Regions from separate parts of the Homo sapiens genome. Here all the other regions are linked to region 5. The links are contacts of gene promoters, found by promoter capture Hi-C in blood cells and fetal thymus (Javierre and others, 2016). All regions are on one chromosome and are shown on one strand. The core of a region is centred on a gene start or on the middle of the fragment in contact, and the rest is flanking DNA. Distances in the headings are between cores, read along the strand shown. Region 1 overlaps SLC7A11 (solute carrier family 7 member 11). Region 2 overlaps LINC00616 (long intergenic non-protein coding RNA 616). Region 3 has its middle 4.0 kb from the start of MGST2. Region 4 overlaps SLC7A11 (solute carrier family 7 member 11). Region 5 holds the start of NOCT (nocturnin). Region 6 has its middle 6.3 kb from the start of QKILA. Region 7 overlaps MGST2 (microsomal glutathione S-transferase 2).

Evidence for each region. The method cuts DNA at HindIII sites, captures the fragments that hold promoters and counts their contacts. A CHiCAGO score of 5 or more calls a contact.
Region 1: a contact is called between a fragment that was not itself captured here and the fragment with the promoter of NOCT in region 5, in 1 of 17 cell types (M2 macrophages). The highest score is 5.5, in M2 macrophages.
Region 2: a contact is called between a fragment that was not itself captured here and the fragment with the promoter of NOCT in region 5, in 1 of 17 cell types (endothelial precursors). The highest score is 7.1, in endothelial precursors.
Region 3: a contact is called between a fragment that was not itself captured here and the fragment with the promoter of NOCT in region 5, in 7 of 17 cell types (total B cells, total CD4 T cells, naive CD4 T cells and 4 more). The highest score is 7.8, in total B cells.
Region 4: a contact is called between a fragment that was not itself captured here and the fragment with the promoter of NOCT in region 5, in 2 of 17 cell types (endothelial precursors and M2 macrophages). The highest score is 5.2, in endothelial precursors.
Region 6: a fragment that was not itself captured here is called in contact with the fragment with the promoter of NOCT in region 5 in 6 of 17 cell types (total B cells, naive CD8 T cells, naive B cells and 3 more); the score reaches 8.4 in total B cells.
Region 7: a fragment that was not itself captured here is called in contact with the fragment with the promoter of NOCT in region 5 in 1 of 17 cell types (total CD4 T cells); the score reaches 5.4 in total CD4 T cells.

Annotation. Positions count from the first base shown.
Region 1 is chr4:138,186,024-138,189,139 of GRCh38, reverse strand. All of the region lies in intron 6 of SLC7A11 (solute carrier family 7 member 11), which reads left to right. Among named protein-coding and RNA genes, the nearest start is that of SLC7A11, 55 kb to the left of the region's middle. The HindIII fragment of the contact is 5,238 bases long and covers 1-3,116 here.
Region 2 is chr4:138,053,813-138,056,818 of GRCh38, reverse strand. All of the region lies in intron 7 of LINC00616 (long intergenic non-protein coding RNA 616), which reads left to right. Among named protein-coding and RNA genes, the nearest start is that of SLC7A11-AS1, 34 kb to the left of the region's middle. The HindIII fragment of the contact is 897 bases long and covers 826-1,722 here.
Region 3 is chr4:139,660,394-139,663,304 of GRCh38, reverse strand. No RefSeq gene overlaps it. Among named protein-coding and RNA genes, the nearest start is that of MGST2, 4.0 kb to the left of the region's middle. The HindIII fragment of the contact is 5,469 bases long and covers 1-2,911 here.
Region 4 is chr4:138,233,811-138,236,793 of GRCh38, reverse strand. SLC7A11 (solute carrier family 7 member 11) reads left to right here. Exons shown (of 12, transcript NM_014331.4): 2 at 343-469. Among named protein-coding and RNA genes, the nearest start is that of SLC7A11, 7.0 kb to the left of the region's middle. The HindIII fragment of the contact is 1,156 bases long and covers 1,137-2,292 here.
Region 5 is chr4:139,014,472-139,017,185 of GRCh38, reverse strand. NOCT (nocturnin) reads right to left here and starts at 1,405. Exons shown (of 3, transcript NM_012118.4): 1 at 1,015-1,405. The coding sequence starts at 1,204. RefSeq lists a silencer at 966-1,265 and enhancers at 1,406-1,755, 1,788-2,709, 1,846-2,714. The HindIII fragment of the contact is 5,482 bases long and covers 1-2,628 here.
Region 6 is chr4:139,627,960-139,631,081 of GRCh38, reverse strand. No RefSeq gene overlaps it. Among named protein-coding and RNA genes, the nearest start is that of QKILA, 6.3 kb to the right of the region's middle. The HindIII fragment of the contact is 178 bases long and covers 1,163-1,340 here.
Region 7 is chr4:139,676,972-139,679,798 of GRCh38, reverse strand. MGST2 (microsomal glutathione S-transferase 2) reads right to left here. Exons shown (of 5, transcript NM_002413.5): 2 at 1,157-1,256. Among named protein-coding and RNA genes, the nearest start is that of MGST2, 13 kb to the right of the region's middle. The HindIII fragment of the contact is 1,221 bases long and covers 697-1,917 here.

The DNA.
Region 1 (3,116 bases), core at 413-2,912, 830 kb after region 5:
TGTTTTAGAGATTTCCATTTAACAATTTCAAATAAAGCAAGTATGTGTGACGTAGACTGGTTGTAAGTGCCAATTTAAAATAAGCCCATAAGAAAAGAAGACTATCCAAGACCTTTTCGACTGAAGACCATTTACAACTAATAAAAATAGCAGACTCTCACATACTTAATGCCTGTTAATTGAAAAGAGCATATATGACAAAAAGCTGTTAGGATTAAGTAACTCTTGTAAATGGTATTTCGTTAGTCATAACAAACATGTACTAACATTTGAGAAAGAATAGAACTTAATTTTGTTAAGAGTGAGTCATTTTTACTCAGCTTAAAAATTATGCTTTTGTTGCATTTAGGATTGGTGGATACCTCACAAGAACACAGAGGCTTTGAAATATCCGTGGCCTACTGGTTCCTTCCTCTAATTCCCTTCATTATCAAGTGCCATTTGCCTTAATCTTGGGTTACTAGTAATGCTATCTGCGCTGTGCGTCTAAAGCCTCCAGAAAGATTGCTCAGGCATGGCCTAATAGCTTTTATCAGTTCACCCAGTGGCTCTTACACTTTGATACCTGAAACCTAGAGTTAACTGTGTAGGACCAAGCTCTTCTGAAGGAGTCAACTGCTCTCCTCTGTCAATAATGGCTGTTTATGCCAAAACAGCCAAGAGAACCTCCCCACCCCCTTCCCTCTGTCAAAGTGAAATGGAACCTAAGAATGGAAGCTAGTGGCTATTTTGCCATACCCCAACCAACTTGCTATTGCTTAATTCCATCTAATTATCAGCTGGGCGTCGTGGCTCATGCCTGTAATCCCATCACTTTGGTAGGCCGAGGCAGGAGGATCACTAGAGGTCAGGAGTTTGAGAACAGCCTGGCCAACATGGTGAAACCCTGTCTCTAATAAAGATAAAAAAATTAGCTGGGTATAGTGATGGGTGCCTATAATCCCAGCTACTGGGAGGCTGAGGCAGGAGAGTTGCTTGAACTTGGGAGGCAGCAGTTGCAGTGAGCTGAGATTGTGCCCCTGCACTCAAGTCTGGGCGACAGAGTGAGACTCTATCTTAAAAAAAAAGAAAATTTTTTTAAAAAAGAATAATTATAGAGAAATTACTGGATATGCTGTGCATTGCAACAAGATTAGACTCTTTCTCCTTTGTTTATATTTTAAGCTGTTATTTTTCTCACTAATATCTGTGTAGTATATTTGGCTGATAGTAAGATTGTTAGTCTGTTTCTGTTTATCTGAGGCATGGTTACCTTCCCTCCTTCTCTATAAAAAAAAGTTTTTTTAGGGAAATTTATTGTGAGCTTCTGTTTTCTTTTAAATAATACATAATTTTAAAATTCTATTTCCCAAACAGTGAAACGATTTGAAAACATTCACTTGACATTACAATTCATGTTACACAGAAAAGTGATAAAAATCATGAAATCAGTTTGCCCCCTTCTTTATGATAGATAAAACTGTAGTGTTAAAGAATACATGAGAAATACTAGTTTGATAAAAGCTCTAATAAACTTTATATTAAACAACCATGATTTTCCTTAAAAGTAATAGAGTTGAGGGACCCACATGCTTGAAAGTGAATACACTTTGGTGGTCCAAATGCCCGAATTTCAAGGTAGGGTGTGTATGCACCTGAATTCTGGGGCTTCCACTTACTAATTGTGTATCCTTAAATAGTTATTTAAGCTCTCGAAGACTTTATTTTTCTCATATATAAAATGTGCTGATGTTCCTAACTCACAGAATTTTCTAAGGACAAAAGGAGACACGTATGTAAAGTGCCTAATAAAATGTTGGGCACATAGCAGCCCAATGGTAGCAGCTGCTCCTGTTATTTTTGTTATTAACAAACAGAATGAAGGGAAACCAACCTAGAAGGTTAGATTTTCTAGGTTCCCTTCTGCTTAGATCAATTTAGGAAACGGCCCTCAGAGAGACTGTAATGTCTAGGCAGGAAACAGGCAGGGGGCTGACTTGGAGGAGCTGGACTGGGAAGGTAAATTCTATGCTGGGAGAGCCACAATCCCAAATTTCAGACTTACTTCTTTCTGCTATTTTGCAGCATCATGTGATGTGACCGTACTCTCTGTTTTGGATAGGTTACTTCACTGCAATTAATAATGTCACTTCATTTTTTATCAATGGAAACTTTATATACCTTAAGCATATGCTTGCAAGGAACAGAGAGTCTTTTTCTCTTCTTCTTTTCCTCTCTTCCTCTCTCCTCCATAGAAAGAATTTACTCCCCATATGGGGATCTTATAAAAGCTGAAAGGATTCAAGGTCAAAATAATACACTGAGTGGTTGAAAAGCTGTGTATACACCTTCATGTTCTCCTTCTTACCCTTTTGCATTTACAATAGCCCTTCTTACGAAGAAACAGAATTCATCTTTAATTTGCTTTATGCCATTTATCCTTTTATATTTGATTGGCTCAGTGATTTTCTTTACTTAAATGTAGCATTTATCAACCACAACTAGCAGTGCATGTTATAGTGTTAACAGAAAATTCCACAGGACCCTCTTCACACTAGGGAAGGGGACCATCTGCTACTTTCATATTAGGATGTCAGGATTTAGAGGTCAATGTGTTTCCTCATCAAGGCTGAAGGCTTTGGGAATCCGGGGAAGTGTCAGGCTCCAAGCAGCATAATGAATGACAGTTGCTGACTGGCTAGGCTAGCATGTTTTCAACAGGGGATATCGCTGTTCGGTATAATGTGCTGGGACTTAGTGTGCTAAAAACACCCAGCTTGGGTAGTGAGGCAGGCTGTGCCTTTTCCCCCCTGATTCTGAACTGCATTTTCATCTTGGAAGAAATTATATTGAGGTCTTCATTAGTGGCACCCAGCAGGGTGAAGGCTCCGTGAGGGCTGATAAGCACTATGGCTGAAAAACGATCAGCCTTTGTGCAGGCAGTTGAAGGTTTAAGTTGCCTGAACTGGAGAGAGTCTGAAGAGGCGATTATGTTAAGCAAGTAATGTGTATTGGTAACGTGGAATCAAATTATTAGGGTCAGTAACTTCCTGGCTTTCCCAGTGCATTAAATGAAGACATAATATTGCATTTGTGTCGGGTACTTCTTGATGCCACATAATGTCAGCACTGTCCGG
Region 2 (3,006 bases), core at 25-2,524, 960 kb after region 5:
GCTCCTCTAGCCTAGGATGGTGGTTGCTTCCTGCAGATACCAATCAAGGAAGTTTACTTTTCTCTTTTGGCTATTCTAGGCTTTCTGACCCTTTTGTAACTATACCGTGTATTAAATTTCCTCCAATTGAAACACCAGTTGAAGTTTCTGTTACCTTAACTAAACAATGATACATGATGGAAGGGCAGTACTTCAGAAACCAAACTAGTTTTGCTTTTATCTTTGTTTCCACACTGACTCATATGTAATATAATTTAGTATTATTTATTTTTGATATCATATATGTAGAATACTTTCATTGATTTCATACATGATATAAAATGCAAAAAAGTTGCATGATAAAATATATCTTAAATCAAAATAAGAATATAAATCAAGAAAGAAATATAAATTTGTATTTCATAGTTTGATATATTAAAGTACACTAGGTCTTCTTCGGAATTAATGGATAGTGTATAAGTAATAACATGACTTAAATCAAGATAAGAATCACGTGATAAGCCAGTACACTTTCTTTCTCCTGACAACGCTTTTTTCGGCACATATAGAGAAAAAATTGTAATTATACTTTAGAAAATCTCTTCTAATATTGTTTACTGGATTCCAAGTTACACATTGTAATATTTTCATGACTTGTCACAATGAACCCATTAATAGGTATGACATTTCCTGATTATGTTTGAAGTATGATAACATATTTCTCCAATGAGTTGCAAGGAATCAAGATGTGATTCATTAAGCATGCTTATGAGTTGTTCACATAATTACAAAGAGAAACCATCCACATGAAAATAAAAACACAATTTTAGGCATAGGAGAAAAGCTTAACTTCTATGACTATTAGCTCCAGTGAAAGATGGAATACACCGAGAGAGAAATATACTGGGTGGACACAGCATTATGGAAGAGAATGTGCCTCCCTAGTTTTGTGCATTTCTGTGCACTCTCGTAGCTAAGTTCCCCACACCCAGAAATAATAGATGATGGTATCAGAAAGGTCTTTAATCCAGAATTTTCCAAGTATGACTAAAAGATTTGTTGTGAAAGATTGAGATTGTGATCAGAATTGGAACTGTATATATTACTACACATTAAATTAGGCACTAATAAATATATATACACATACATAATTAGATATTTTCAAATGGAATTTCTGTTTTTCGCTTCTTTATATGTGACTCCTCCCCTTCTGGATCAGCGCAGATTGCCCTAAGTGGTGTAGCATAGCAGAGTGTAGGCTCTGGATGCAAGCTGCCTGGCTTCATTGCCTGGTTTCATCACTAACTGTGTGGTCCTGCATGAGCTAATTAATCTCTCTGTACCTCAGTATCCTCATTTGTTCAATGTTGTGAGTATAAAATGAATAATACATACAACTACTTAGCAAGATGTCTACATCAGTTGCAGATTATTTCCAAGCAGCACATTACCATATTAGGATTGTTATAGCTGAAATGCAAAGAGAACAAAAGAGTCAAAGTCAACCCCTCACCCTTTAAAATAGGCTCTTGAAGTCCATTTCTGAGATTATATTACTAAAATATGGGCTTTCAGTAGCAAACGACAAACACTTGAAAACAGTTTTCTAAATTCCAGATTTTTCCCTTTAAACATCAAGAACAAAAGTATAGAGAATTGAACATGACATTTTTACTATAAACTATAAAATAGGAAGGATAGCTTCGGGACAATTTCCTGCCAAACAGGGATTAGATAAAAGCTTTCCTCAGCTAGAGGAAAGCATTGGAACAAGAAAGAAAGAAACACTTTGAGGCTTCAGTGAGAAGCTCACTCCCACATCTTTGGTAATTTCAGGGAGAAGAGGCATGTTCTCTGTTCCCTTCCGGGAGGCAAAGCTTCATTATGCTCTCCAAATGGGATGCCCAAAATGTTTTATCCAAAGGTTTTGGATTTTTCAGGCAGAAAGAGGGCTTGAGATAGTGTCTTCCACTACATCTCAGAGTTATGAAAGACCTGGTGTAAAGAAAATCAAGAAATTGCTTCATGCCTTAATGGAACATGTGGATTTGCAAAGAAGGTTGGTAAATCATAGGAGACCTAGGTTGAGATGAGCAAATACAATGTGTAGATATCAAGGCTATGCTACGGGTTTTGGGTGCCAGCAAGGATGCTTGTAGGTGTGCAAAGGCAAGATGGGACCACTTTACGTTAGATGTAGATACAGAAAGAACCAAGGTGGCCACAAAAAGACTCATGGGAAGAGTAATAACAGTCCATTGGAACCTGAGAAGAGCCCTTGTAAAATACATTCCCGCGCGACCTCTGTTGTGATACTCTGCTAGCAATTTTTTACTCTCAAAAGCTTTCTCATGGAGGAGTAAGGCAAGAGGCAAGCATATAAGAAATATGTGTATGTATTGTTGCTACAGAGTTTGAAAAAGGACTTGTCGGAGTTTTGTATCTCTATTAACAAAATAATTACCTTGAGATCTTTTCCAATCAGATGTGGCTGAGTTACCTGGAGAAGCCTGCATTACATTTTTAAAAGAAGGCTCAGAGAATAAGTTGAATGCAGTAGGGAGAAATACGGAAAATTGCATATTTGCACATCTGACTCATAATGGATAATTTCAAACCTTCTATAAATAAAAGTTTTACAAACACTGCACAACACATACTTCTAAGCCCTCTACACTAAGACTTGTATATGTGAAGGACAGAAAAGGAAAGGGGTCCTCTTCTGGGGTGCTTCTCCTCTTTCATATGCATTGTCTCTGCTCTGTAGTTTCTTTTCTTGTTTCCACATTTTTTTTCCATAAGCTGTGTAAGGATGAAACATGACTTCACTTCAAAAACATTCTAAATTCCTAGTTATCACATTTGCAACTCAGTGCTGCCTTCCTGCCTGCATGTTTCTATTTGTGCTGTTGATCTCAATTATGTTCTCTTATCCTTGCTTTTTAGATATCCTGATGATTTCTGTGATTCTCATAGGTTCTGCAGCTCTCTTTATCACGTAGGCATCCTTAATTTAACACTTTTCGC
Region 3 (2,911 bases), core at 322-2,821, 650 kb before region 5:
CCAGACCATCCTGGCTAACACGGTGAAACCCCGTCTCTACTAAAAATACAAAAAAATTAGCCGGGCGTGTTGGCGGGCGCCTGTAGTCCCAGCTACTCGGGAGGCTGAGGCAGGAGAATGGCGTGAACCTCGAAAGCGGAGCTTGCAGTGAGCTGAGATCGTGCCACTGCACTCCAGCCTGGGTGACAGAGCGAGACTTCGTCTCAAAAAAAAAAAAAAAATGAAACTTCCCAGCTTCTGGACAAATCCTGAGGTTCCCTACTGACTTCTCCCAGCCAATCTTAAGTCAGTCCCCCAAATCCAGATTCTAAGAGATGGTTGACACAAAGTAAAAAAATAAAAAATCAATTAATCAATAAAATCTCAAGTGCTTCAAAACCCCACGTGTCTATTTAAAAAGATCTTCATTGTCGGTATATGTAGTTATTGCCTCTAGGAAAGTATAAAAGAATAGAGCATTGTATAATGAAATGTTTATCACCTTCTGCAGTGATAAAATTTCCAGGTGACCCACAGCTGAAATACTGCCATAGCATTAACAAAAACTCACAAAAATTAGAGTTTCTCTGTACGTTTTCCCTGGATTGGTTGAAGAGGAATGGCATTTTCCCTGAATGTTGTTCCCATAGATCCTTCTAGTATGTTCCATTTATTACATTTTTCTATGAAAAGGAAAATAAGAGGACAAACAGCATACTGGTAATTGCTATGGTCTGAATGTTTGTCCCCTCCAAAACTCATGTTAAAATTTAACTTCCATTATAATGGTATTAAGAGGTAGGACAATAAGGGGTGATTAGGCCATGAGAGCTCTGCTCCCATGAATGGATTAATGTTGTTATAGGAGTGGATTGTTATAAATGTGAGCTTGGCCCTCTCTTGCCCCCCCGCTTTGGGATGACATAGCACAAAGGTCCTTACCAGATGCCAGCACCTTGATATTAAACCTCCTAACCTCCAGAACTGTGAGAAATAAATTTCTTTTCTTTATAAATTACCCAGTGTGTGGTATTCTGTTATAGCAACAAAATGGAATAAGACAGTAATGATAGTAAAATGTTTTTAAAATATTTTTATTATCTATGTAAACTCAAAAGAAACCTAAAAGACTTTCTGAGGACTTTGGTTACTACTGAATCACTGTTACCAAAACTATACTCTAGGTAAGGTGAAACAGAGAGGCCAAGATTTGATCACATAAAAACAAACCTGAACCATGTAAAAGAACTGCTTTCATGAAATGTGAACTCTAAATGTAACTCTTTCAGTATAATTTTGGTAATAGATGAAAAGAAATGATATATTAAACTATAGAAATGTTTTTCCTCAGCCGGGCATGGTGGCTCACACTTGTAATCCCAGAACTTTGGGAGGCCAAGGTGGGTGGATCACCTGAGGTCAGGAGTTCAAGACCAGCCTAGCCAACATGGTGAAACCCCATCTCTACTAAAAATACAAAAATTAGCCAGGCATGATGGTGCACATCTGTAATCCCAGCTACTGGGGAGGCTGAGACATGAGAATCACTTGAACCCAAGAGGTGGAAGTTGCAGTGAGCCGAGAATGCGCTACAACACTCCAGCCTGGGTGACAGAGCTTGCTCTGCCAAGCTCTGTCTCCATCTCAAAAAAAAAAAAAAAAAAAAAAAAAGGTTTTTCCTCAAACCAATTGCAACCCCCGCAAATTATTCCCTGGTCTCACCCTCTCTGTTCACTTGCTACCCTTCCAAAATTGACAGCACATCATCCAGGTTTCTGCTGAGCACTACAGCAGGGCTGTCCTCACTGCCATCAGGCCAGGTAGCAGAAAGAGACAGAAAATACACCTCTTTCCCAGGAACTATCAGAGTGATCATGATTATCAATGACCACATAACTCTCCATGTACCCAGAGTTCATTACATTATCTTGCTAGAAGTCCTGACTAGTTGAAGAATCTTGTAACTACACAGCAGTTTTTCTGTGTTTTGTTTTGTTTTGAGACAGGGTCTTACTCTATCACCCTGGCTGGAGTGCAGTGACATGATCATGGCTCACTGCAGCCTCAACTTCCAGGGTTCAAGCAACCCTCCCACCTCAGTCTCCTGAGTAGCTGGGTTTAATAGTGGCTTTAACACAGTAAGTTTTTAAGCAAAGCTCAGATAAACACAATTTGAAATTATGCTCCATTTTGCTACATGTTGCAAAAATTTAGGAAATTTTAGTCATCCTACGGAATATTTTCTCCCATTTCAGAAACTGCAGCATTTTGCTTTGTAGCCCTGAGTGTGAAGAAATGAGCTAAAGAAGGCAAAGGCATTTTATTCCCATTGAGGAGACTTTGCCCTGGACCAGACAGGGCAAAGGGTTACAGTTGAATGCCAGCTACCTTCCAGCAGAAACTGCCCACTACCCAGCACCAGTAATGACATATCAAGGCTCAAAGATAAAGACAGAAAAAGAGAAGAAAGGCAAGGAAAATAAAGATCAGTTACCAATGTAGTGTAGAAAAAAAGAGTACAAGGTTTAAGCTCCTATCTCTGTGTCACGGTGGAAAGTTGCTAAACTTCCTGGACATGTGTTTTCAAAGGGAAATAATAATACTGACCTTGCAGGGTTCCTCTGATGAATAAAGGAAGTCATGTGAAGGAAGCAAATAGCACAGAACCCGGCATGATGCTGGCTGTCCACAGGTGTCACCACCCTGCCCATTCTCTCTGCCATCCTGATGCCCTCCAACCCTGGGCGAAAGCAGAAGAGACTAGGCCTATTTGTTGAAAAGGCCATATTACAAAGCAACAGATGATTTTAGAATGCCATTAGAATTTCTGAGACAGCACAGATTTCCCAGAAGAATAGAAACAGAACATTTGAATTGCTTCAAAATGGCTTTTGACAGTAATAGAGGGTCTCAACCTGAGTTGTCTTAAGTT
Region 4 (2,983 bases), core at 465-2,964, 780 kb after region 5:
AATATTATTGACATCTCTCTCCTCTTTTTCCCCTATTTCCAGGTTTTCAGCTCAAAATTCTGGAACACATGATATTGTTGCAGACATGTATCTTTGTCATTTCAAGTAAAATTATAGTGTTCAAATAGAATACACTAAATCTCAACTGTGAGGATGTTAGAAAAGGAACTTGGCGGGTCTTAGCAATTAGATGATGGTTATTTGTCTTGAGTAAGGATGCCATTCAGACCAAAGGAGGCAGTTACATCTCAGGCAACATATAAACATTATTGTATCTATTCTAATGCTGGGTGTCTTGAAAATGTATTAAATTGGTACCATTTTGTGACAAATATTTCACAGGAGCTTTGTCTTATGCTGAATTGGGAACAACTATAAAGAAATCTGGAGGTCATTACACATATATTTTGGAAGTCTTTGGTCCATTACCAGCTTTTGTACGAGTCTGGGTGGAACTCCTCATAATACGGTAAGAGCATAGTAGAAAGAATTAAGAAAAAATAAACCAATTCATTCTTATGAATCACCTTGATTATTTTTAACTGGTTAGACACATGCATGTCATGTGACTACATGATAAACATGTCTACCTCAGGATATAAAGCCTGTGATAAAGTACCTTTCTGAATTAAGATATTTTTAATGCAATTTTATCACTGACAAGCAGTTCACCAGCAATGCCAAACTTTTAGAAATATCTACCTTTCTTTGACCCTCAGCTATTCTCTTTGACACTTCCAGGAGAAAGATGCTTACTTGAAAGAATATGAACATGAAAATTCACCTGGATACCTTTTGACCAACTAGACCAAATTAAATATTGAAGTTTTCTCTTATTGTAGATTATATCATTAAGGCATTTAACTTTACTTAGTCATTGTGACCAAGACACTTCTGTGCCTCACAACTTAGTTGGTCACCAAGTCTTATACTTCATAAAAAACAGAGTTTGCATGACAGAGTCAAATGACTCATTTCCTTATATTAAACAGATTAGGAACTACAGTTCCAAAAGTCTTTTTTGATTTTATTGTTGTAACAATGTGTTTACATTCCTGCTTGTCTTGGTTTAAAATCACACTGAATAGTGCTAAGTCACTCTGAATAGCAAATTTCCTTCGACTTTGTGGGAAGCTTATGATGTCATATGAGCATTTCAGAGTATCACAGTTCCTTAAGGCTAACTACTTTGATAAAATGTGATGTGCACAGTCTGATTACAGAATTTAATGGATATTACTAGGGAAACTTGCTCTTATCAAACTTATCAAACATATGTGATTGAGAGTTCATGTGAGCTTTTATGGCTAAGTGCCAAATACAGTGCTAGTAAGTATTGACAACACTAATCATGAGTTTTACAGTGTTAGAAGTCTTTTTTTTTTTAACCAAAAAAAGATCTTCAAAGTAGTATATGCTTCATGAAGGCTTTTTCATTTTAAACACTCTGCATTATTTAAAATTGTTATAATGAAATAATAATAAGTATTTTTTTCCTTTCCTGAAATTCCTCTATCAGGAATGCACTTCTATTCCTTTTGGTTATCTCAATCTTATCTGCTCTTCAAAGGTCATCTTAAATCCTTTCTTTCCCACAATTAATTTCCTGTTTATTCTAATTTATGTTATTTCTTTCATCTCTAAATTCTTCTGAAAATTCTATCTCTGCTTCACATTTGGCATTGAGCATGATACCTTCTATTCTTCCTTAATATTTTAGGTGTCTATATTTTGTTTCCCTTTTAAAACTGCCAACATTTCAAGCATACAAAGATAAGATCTTTTTGTAACCCATATACTACTTAGGTCAGTGCCCTTTTTTTGGCATATATTAAATTATTTTTGAATAAGTAATTGAAAGTTTAAAGTTACAATATATTGTGTACAACATACTCAGCATTCAAATGCATGTACTACTTATTGACTGCTGGCCTGTCAGGCTGGCGGGCTTTGGAGCTTAATACAGTTGGACTTGACTCCGTCTTCAGCCATGTATTAGTTGTGTAACTTTGGCTCATTGCTTAGCATTATGATGAACATGATCATTCCATATAAATATAGCTTATATCTTACAGTAGCACAGATAAAATATTCATATATTAATTTATTTATTCCACAAACTGCTACTGAATGGTAAATGGCAATAAAAAGAGATCTAAAATGAAATCAGCCACAATTTCTGCTCCCAGGTAGCGGATAATCAAATGTTACTTTAATTTAAAAAAAAAAACTACTTTTCTCTGTGTGTGTGTGTCTGTTGACAGAGGAAAGTACCTTTGTATTCTAGAAGCTTTTAAAATATGTTCATATATCTCTTTGTCATAACATACTCATATTGCTGAGTTGGCCTTTTAAATAGGCAGAATAACAAATGACATGAGGAGGGACAAAATATCTAAGTATGTAAATATTTCTCTTCTTTTACTAATACCCATAGTTCCTAAGTACTTCCCATTAAAATTATACCTTTAGATTAAGTTAGTATTGCCAGAAATAATCTGTAAAACACAGATTTCAAGGACAGAAATATTATCTATCTGTACACAGCAGGGGTCATTAAACCGAATTTGCGTGTGCACTATATATTCAATATATATTGGGTTTCCACTATATGATAGACACTGTTCTAAACACTGGAGGTAAAACTGTGATTAAGATAGATATGATTTTGTACCCTTAGAGCTCAGAGTCAAGTGGGAGGAAATCATTATCAATCGAGAAATCACATAGGTAAATATAAAATTGCTATTGTGATAAGCACTGTGGAAGACAGGCCAAGGGCTTCAGTATGAATATACTCCAAGAGATCTGGCCCAGTCATAGGTTGGAGAAGTTTTCCCCTGGGAAAGGAAAATTGAACTAAGATCTGAAGTATAAAACATAGTCAATTAGTTGCAGAGGCTGCAGGCAGAGAAGATTCATATCCTTCTAGTGGGAAGAAGCTAACTGAAGAAGTAGGGAGAGCTTAGACCAGATGGAGCCT
Region 5 (2,714 bases), core at 156-2,655:
TTTTAAAGTATAATTAATTTGTATGTAATTTGTGGCCATGGTAATGTGTGCCCAGGCAGAAACAGAGGTAGCAAAAAAGGAAAACTCAGGGTAGTTATTATGATGTATGAAAACAGCTCTTGGTGAAACTAAGGCCTCACTTTTACAAGATCTTAGATACACAGGACAAAAAATGATGTTAACTATAAAGAGTGGAAGCCTCCAAAAAAAAAAAATCCAAAGAAACGTAAAATGGCCGAGCGCGGTGGCTCACGCCTGTGATCCCAGCACTCTGGGAGGCTGAGGCGGGTGGATCACGAGGTCAGGAGTTCAAGACCAGCCTGGCCAAAATGGTGAAACCCCCGTCTCTACTAAATATACAAAAGTTAGCTAGGCGTGGTGACTGGCGCCTGTAATCCCAGCTACTCGGGAGGCTGAGGCAGGAGAATCGCTTGAACCCGGGAGCGGGAGGTTGCGGTAAGCCGATATCGTGCCACTGGACTCCAGCCTGGGTGACACAGTGAGACTCCATCTCAAAAAAAAAAAAAAAAAAAAAAAAAAAAAACAACGTAAAACGAATCAATGTGTTATTATCACGACTTAAAAAAAAAACTTAATATCTAGACCATGAAAGCTATATAAGCAAATAAGCATCATTTAGATTTTTTTTTCCATAAAAATTTCCGTTAAGTCGTGCAATAAAAAATGTAACCAACATAGTAACTCGCGGCCTCGGAAGGGGGAAATTTAACGGTCAAGAACAAGAAATTCTGAAAGCATGGCCTCTAAGGGTCAAGCGGGAACCTGAATACAGTCTCCCAGTTCTTACTAGCTTTGATGCAAGCCCCAGGCAAGTCGGGGAACAGGGAAAGAGGAAAAAGGGAACGCAGAAGGTTGCTCCGGTAAAGGACCCACTTTCAGGCCAGACTCCACGACCGGCAGCCCCGGGCTTCTCATTCATTCCGCGCGGTCTCCAGGTGGCGGCCGCGCGTTGGCGGCCGTGGCGTTCTCCGCCCGGAACTGGGGTGCACTCACCTGTTCGGGAACACGACCTCGCGGCGCCCGAGGCCGCCGAGGCCGCCGCCAGCAGCCGGGGGGATGCGGGCCTGGGAACAGCAGCCGGCGGGGACAACGGGCGGCGCAGCCCTGGGGCGGGCAGGCGGCGCAGGCCGGGCGCGTCCCTCTGCAGCAGGGCCGAGCAGAGCCGCCGCGGACTATGAAACATGCCGGGCGCCGCCGCCACCACGGCCCCTCGCGCGCCCGAGGAGCGGAGCCCGGCTGGGGCCGAGGGCACCGAGTCGAGCCGACTGTCCGGGCAGTGTGGGCGGATGCTCCCAGGCTCCTTCTCGCGCGGCGCAGGTTCTGGGGAAATCCCGGGCAGCAGAGCCGGAGAGGGAGGTGCAACACCGCTGCGTCGGCACCGTCTGCTGTGAGACCTGGCGAGACCTGCAGGGCGCCCGGCGAGCGCTGCGCGCTGACAAAGCGGGCGCTACCAAGCGGGAGCTGGAGGGGAATCCGCGGGACCCGGCCACTGCGCGGCCACGCCAGGCTCCCTCGACCCGGCGTAATCCTGTTTTAAAAGGAAGCGGGGCTTAGGCTGATTTATAGATAGAATCCGCAGGCGGTCTAAAATAAGAGGTATCCGTTGGAGCTGTTCTGAAGAAAAAAGCGTCCCCTTCCGCTGGCCAGCATGGAAGCGCCCACAGGCTGGGAATCCCGAGACAGTTCCAGGGCTGTGGCCCAGGGGACACGTGTCTGTCAGAGTGGCAGACGGCCTACGTGTGTGCCTGCGCGGGTCTGTGTGGATACAGCAAAAGGCGTCCGCCTCCGACCCCCTCGGCAGTGTGTGATGCGTTAAACGATATTAAGCACAATAAAGCACCGCCTGTGGGCGAGGCGACGATGATTAAAACAGCGTTCTTTTCCTCAAAAGTGTTATACTTAGGCAAAGGGAGCAGAAGGTGGCAAGGGAAGTCAGACCAGAAAGCTCTACAAGGTAGAATGAGATTATTGCCACAAGATGCCAAAGATTGGCTATAGAGATGACAACAGGCCCGGGCTCTCTAGAAGGTTCATTAGAAGGATTGGCATTTGAGTTGGCCTATGACGTGGAGGTCTAGAATTTACCCACGTGAAACTTTGGAGGGGGTGGTGGTGAGTTATAAATGAAAAAAGTAAATAAGGGTGTATTTGGGGAAACAACTCTTAGTCATGTAAGATGGAAGCTAAGGAGTAAGAGGACAGATGCGTGGATAGGTTGTAGTGTGGAAGGAAGGGGATTATAGTAGGCTTAATTCGGTGGATAGCTGCGAGCCGTTGACGTTTTGTAAGCTGAGCAAAGACATGGTCAGGGCTGTGCTTTAATTGGAAATCACATGTCTCTGGTTCATGAAAAGGCAGAAAGGAAATCAGCTGAGATAACAGATACTGTAGACCCGCACCAGGTTACTGTTACTGGAAAAGAAAGGATGGAAGAAACATCTCAGACAGGCTGGGCAGGAAATGATGACTAATCAGGAATAGAAATGGGATGAGGGGGAGGGAAAACCCAAGACTGGATTTTTCTCTGAATGATTCATGAGTTAGAAATGTATTCTATTGGTTTTCCCATGATTTTGCTGATTCCCCTGTGTTGTGGAATTGCAAGCTTTTCATCACAAGAATATTCTAAATATTTTTCAGACCTAGGTTACATATCTAACACCTGTGGATAGAGGGTGTGGACAGATCAGCTG
Region 6 (3,122 bases), core at 2-2,501, 610 kb before region 5:
ACCAAGAAACTCACTCAGCACAGGAATGTTGTTTCTTCATCTCCCTGTCCCATGACTTCACTCCTCACTTCTGGACCAATCAACAATCCCCACACTTTAGCCATTTGCCCATACAGAGCCCTTAAAAACCTCATCCCCAATCCTCTCAGGGAGGTGGATTTGAGGTTTCCTCTTGTCTCCTCATTTGGCTGCCCTACCATTATTAAACCCTTTCTCTGTTGCAACTCCTTCTGTTTTGGTGTATTGATCTATTACTGCACAATGGGAAATCAAACCTGGTGTTCCTATAATATATATGATCCTCTGGCCCCCTCTTGCAAGCCTATAGGGAAATACTCTTAAATTCATGTACAGTGAATGTACATGCAGCATGCAGTCCTCTTTTCACAATCCCTGCCCCTGTGGCATCTCATTCTTATTTTTAAAAGTCTTTTCAAGGTATTTCCCAAAGAAAAGAGTCATCAGTCTTTATGATGAATTCTGCTCCTTCTCAGAAACGCATAATTGCAATAATCATAGAATTATTTTGATAAAGAACTTCATAATGTTGCTGTTACTCAAGACAAAATGACATCATGTAGGTGACAGTGTCGGAAATCTGAAAAGCACTTTTGTAATTCAAGTATAAAAGGAGAGAAATATTACATACAATCCCACAACCTAGTCTAGTTAAAAGATGATCCAAAAACTGAAGATCCATTGGTCTACAAGTCCTCAGACATGGCAAACTTGAAGAAACTGGGCTGTGGCTACATGCAATGCTCAGTTGAATGCATACTTAAATAAATGAAAGAAGTGTGCATAGGGTGTAACACAAGGAGATACTTAACTAGGCAGATTTTAGCCATTCCATTGAAAAATGTTTCAGAATCATCATGGAAGCCAGGCTAGGTTGGAGAATGAATGGGAGTGAGAAAATGGAGAAATCAGCATGGCTTTTGTTTTCCTAGAAGTTGAGTGTGAAAAGGAGAAAGACAGCATAGTAACCACTTAGTTTCAGCCATAACACTCCATGGCATGATCCACACTCTCCTCTGAAGTCTGGTTTTTTCACACTCATCCTGTCTCCTAGAGAAGATCCTAATAAAGGGTCCCTTCCAGCATCCAGCTCTCCATTCCTCAAGTGCATTGGGCCATGTCAGACCATTTCCTGAGTTAAGCTTAGTGTAACTGGAGAGACAAGTAAAAGGGACAGGCGTGCAAACATGGAAAGAAAAGCAGGGAGGTATGCTATGGACTAGACTGTGTCCTTCCCAAAAACCCTATGTTGAAGCCCTAATCACCACTGTGACTGTGTTTGGAGTTAAGGCCTTTTAGGAAGTGATTTCCTTAAAGAAGCTTCGAGGATCACTTGAGATTAAATAAGGCCAGAAGAGGAGGGCCCTCCTCCAATAGGACTGGTGTCTTTATAAGAAGAGGAAGAGACACCAAAAGGAAAGGCCATGTGAGGACATGGCAAGAAGGCAGCTAGCCGCAAGCCAGGAAGAGAGGCCTGCTGGCACCTTGACCCTGGATTTCCAGCCTCCAGAACTGTGAGAAAATAAAGTTCTGCTATTTAAGCCACCCAGTCTGTGGTATTTTGTTATGGCAGCCTGAGTAGACTAACATAGGATGGTTAAGAAAAACAAACAAACAAACAAACAAACCTACAGTCATCCTTGGTTATATACAGGGTATTGGTTCCAGGACCCCCACAGATATCAAAATCCGAACATACTCAAGTCCATACTCAAGTCCTACAGAACCCATGTGAAAAGCCAGTCCTCAGGTTTTGCATCCTGGGAATACTGTATTATCGATTAGCTTTGGTTGAAAAAAAAAATCCAAGTATAAGTGGACCCTTGAAGTTCAAACCCGTGTTGAACTGTACAGTGCAGGGGTCAACTGTAATAATAAAGGAGGAGGAGGGGGGAGGGATAGCTTTAGGAGATATACCTAATGCTAAATGACGAGTTAATGGGTGCAGCACACCAGCATGGCACATGTATACATATGTAACTAACCTGCACATTGTGCACATGTACCCTAAAACTTAAAGTATAATAATAATAAAATAAAATAAAAATAAAAAAGAGCAGTAAAAAAAATATAATGATAATAATAAAGGAGGGAACTTGTACTTTGTACTTTTCTTCACAATTTTGGGTAGGTCTGGCTCTAATGGCATAACTTGAGAGAGAAAGGGAGAAGGGGAGTATGTGACACATGTCAATCTGTCACAGCACAGGACACCGGCTCCCACCGGCCTCACCCTCCCTCCCCATCCCTATTTGCTGTCCTCCACTCCCTGGGCTTCTTGGCTGCTGGTCAGCCTCAGAGGTTGCTTAGTTTTAAAATATCCCTGCTTAGACGGCTAATGTTCCGTGGTGGGACTCGTGGATTTTTTTTTCTTCTGATTTATGCTAGGATCAAAAGAAGCTTTAGAGTCTTTCCTGTTGCTATCGACCCATTGAGATCGGCTCTGCAGCCAGAGGCCTCGCTGTGATCCGCCGAACGCCAGGGATTAGTGAAGATTCCACAAGAGATTTGAACAGTACCCAGTGAGTACACCTTGCATTCGTCTTTGAAAGTATATTATGGACCCAAAGTGGTGTATCACCCACAAATTCTTCCTCCTCCTTTTCTTTCTAACCTTAGGGGAGCAAGGCATTAATTAGTTAAACAGTCGAGCAGCTCAAAGGTTTCTTTTCAGCAGCAATGGCTCACGTGGCTGCTTCTCATATGGACAGGTTGCTGCTGCCAAGCGGGGGTAAGGGTGGGCAGCACTTACAGGGAGTGCTTGTTTAAACAAGGCCAATTTCCAGCCTACTTTGCAATGCAAATGCTTTCAAGAGCATCCCGATTGCTCCTCAGAATTAGCTGGAATAAAGACACTTAGGAGGGATGTAGCTTGGTTTGTTTCCAGCCTTTTCTTCTTATGGCTGAAACCAGTTTCTTCAGATTATTATTTGGCTTTGATGTGTTCAGAGTTTATATCATAAGGAAAATCATTTTATTCTACAAGGCAAACAGTTTAAAATGGGAATAATTTAATGTTGTTTTTGTTTCGTTTTAATTTAAAAAATAGTGTCTTTTAAATGGACATTTTAAAACTGTATGCCCTCGAAACGTTATTTTCGTGT
Region 7 (2,827 bases), core at 58-2,557, 660 kb before region 5:
ATCATGTAGTTCAATGTTATTTAAAACCAAGTCTACACACCTCTTACAATTATCTCGTGTACTCCCGGTGGTATTCACCCCACGCTTTCAAGCCTAGGGAGTAGTCTGTAAAACCCTCCTTGGAGCAAGTGGATAATCAAGAGACCAATGTTATCATCTCAAGGACCAAGGCCTACCAAAATTGATTCAAGATGTAACAAAAAGCCTGCCTAGTCCAATAATCATTAAAGAATGCAAATCCCATAATTTAAAAATTTCCCACCAGAAAAACATTAGGCCCAGATTATTTTAAGGCAAGTTCTACACAACCTTGAAGGAACACACTCTTCCAACCTTATTAAAATTATCTGAGAAAGTAGAACAGGATGCTTCCTCCAACTCATTTGACACTAGGTTCATCTGTATCAAAATGAGACAAGAACCAGACAAGAAAGGCAAAGTGTAGGCCAATCTCACTTGTAAACATAAATGAAAAATCCCAAGATGGTAACAAAAGAACCCAATGATATATCAGTGGTGACGCATGAAATGTTTCTTAAAGCACGTATTTTGGGGGATGAAATATAAAGTACGCCCTAGCATTCCTGCAGCAGGCAAGTTCACGGTGTTTATGGTGGAACATTTTGTGTGGGTCTGAAAAAACAAGGAGCACAAGATGATCAAAAAACATGGCGCATGCATGTGAGCTGGCAAGCTTTCTCATTCTTACAGGTTTCTGATTTTAAGAAATGGTTCACAGAGAAACTGGCAAAAGATTAATCCTGATCTACCTCTGTTTTGAAGTAGGGAGGAAAAAATAAGATAGAAAATTGTAGCATAACGAATCCAACTTCAGACTATTGTGGTCTCACAAGGCTCCAGGGGGCCTCTTTGACCCAGTGACCCTCCTTGGGAGACACAGCAGTCCCTCCTGAGATCCCAGCCTTTTCTGTAAATATACCCTGCTGAATTGGTAATAGATGTGGGCAGAGACTTCATGCCCCGAACCCTTCAAACTTTCTGGATTCTGAGAACGGTCTTGGCTGTGAAGAGTGACTTGTTATAACTAGATATTGCACATGAACTTAGGGTCTTCTCCATATCCCTTTCCCCTAGTCAGGAATTGTGTCTGTATGGCAGGCACAGATCCATGAAGGGTGGAAGAAGCATTACTTACTGTGCCCGAAATACTCTCTCAAACTCTGGTGACCCAGTGACTGCTGGGGGCGTAACTTTGTATTTTAATCTTGCCTTTCCAACTTGCAAAGCAAAATAACCTGCAAGTAAAGGGAAATGTTGCGTTAAAGATGGGGCACGTCATTAGTCATTAGTGGAATGCAAATTTAAATCACAATTAGATAGTACTACATACCTATTACAATGTCTAAAATCAAAAAGACAGATGATAGCAATTAAAAAAGACAGGAGAGGATATGAGAGCAACTGAAACTTTCATACAATGCTGGTGGGAATGTAAAACGGTACAACCACTTTGAAAAACAGTTTGGAAGGGAGTCTTTTAGTTAGACATACCTCCAATGTATAACCCAGTCATTCCATTCATAGGTATTTCCCTAAGAGAAACAAAATTGTATGTCCATACTGTAGGGGCCAAAGCCCTTGGCCCCCTGGAGGTTCACTGAAAATCACTGACATGAGGCAGATTAATTAACAGACATTAAAAGAAAGATCACACACATTTATTTCATATGTATACATAGCAGCCTTCAGAACAAAGACCCCGCTCCACAGTGAGGTACAGAAGTTCATATGCCATCTTGAGGCTACAGAAATGTGAAAGGAAAATAAATCTCAGGACCCCAAAATCACTAAGCCAAGGGAAAAGTCAAGCTGAGAACTCCAGCAGGCAAACCTGCCTCCCATTTTAATTCCTAAATAAGATAGCTACAAAGCACAATTTGCCCACAAGGAAAAGCTTATCTTCACAGGTGCTGGACAGAAAGTCACCCTCTGCTCATCTGAGACAAACGCATATCTGATTGCTTATGTAAAAATGTGCCGATCACGGTGGCTCACGCCTGTAATCCCAGCACTTTGGGAGGCTGAGACGGGTGGATTACCCAAGGTCGGGAGTTCGAGACCAGCCTGACCAACATGGAGAAACCCTGTCTCTACTAAAAATACAAAAAATTTGCTGGACGTGGTGGTGCATGCCTGTAATCCCAGCTACTCAGGAGGCTAAGGCAGGATAATCACTTGAACCTGGGAGACAGAGGTTGCAGTGAGCCGAGATCATGCCATTGCACTCCAGCCTGGACAACAAGAGTGAAACTCTGTCTCAAAAAAAAAAAAAATGCAGATTCACTGAGCCAGACTAAATTGTGTATTCAGTGAAAGGCTTATCAAGGACTCAAAAGAATGTAACCTTTATCTCTTATCTATCTATGACCTGGAAGCCCCTGCTTTGATTTGTCCTGCCTTACCTAGACCAAACCAATGTACATGTTACACATACTGATTGATGTCTCATGTCCCTCTGAAATGTATAAAAGCAAGTTGTACCCTGACCATCTTGGGCACATGTCATCAGGACCTCCTGAGGCTATGTCACGGGCATGTCCTTTTATGTCACGGGCATGTCCTTAACCTTGACAAAATAAACTTTCTAAATTGGTTGAGACCTATCAGATATTTTGGGTTCACAGAAGCAATGCAGGCTCAGAACATGGCCAAAAAAACAGGTTATGGTGGTAAGTCAGGTTTTAGTGGCAAGACAGGATATGGGAGGGGAAGAAGAGGAGGCTCAGCTAGCCAAGGGAGTCATGTTATACAGACGAAATCTCACAGATAGCAGCCCCTTAGAGAAAATAGATGGTAAGTGTTTCTT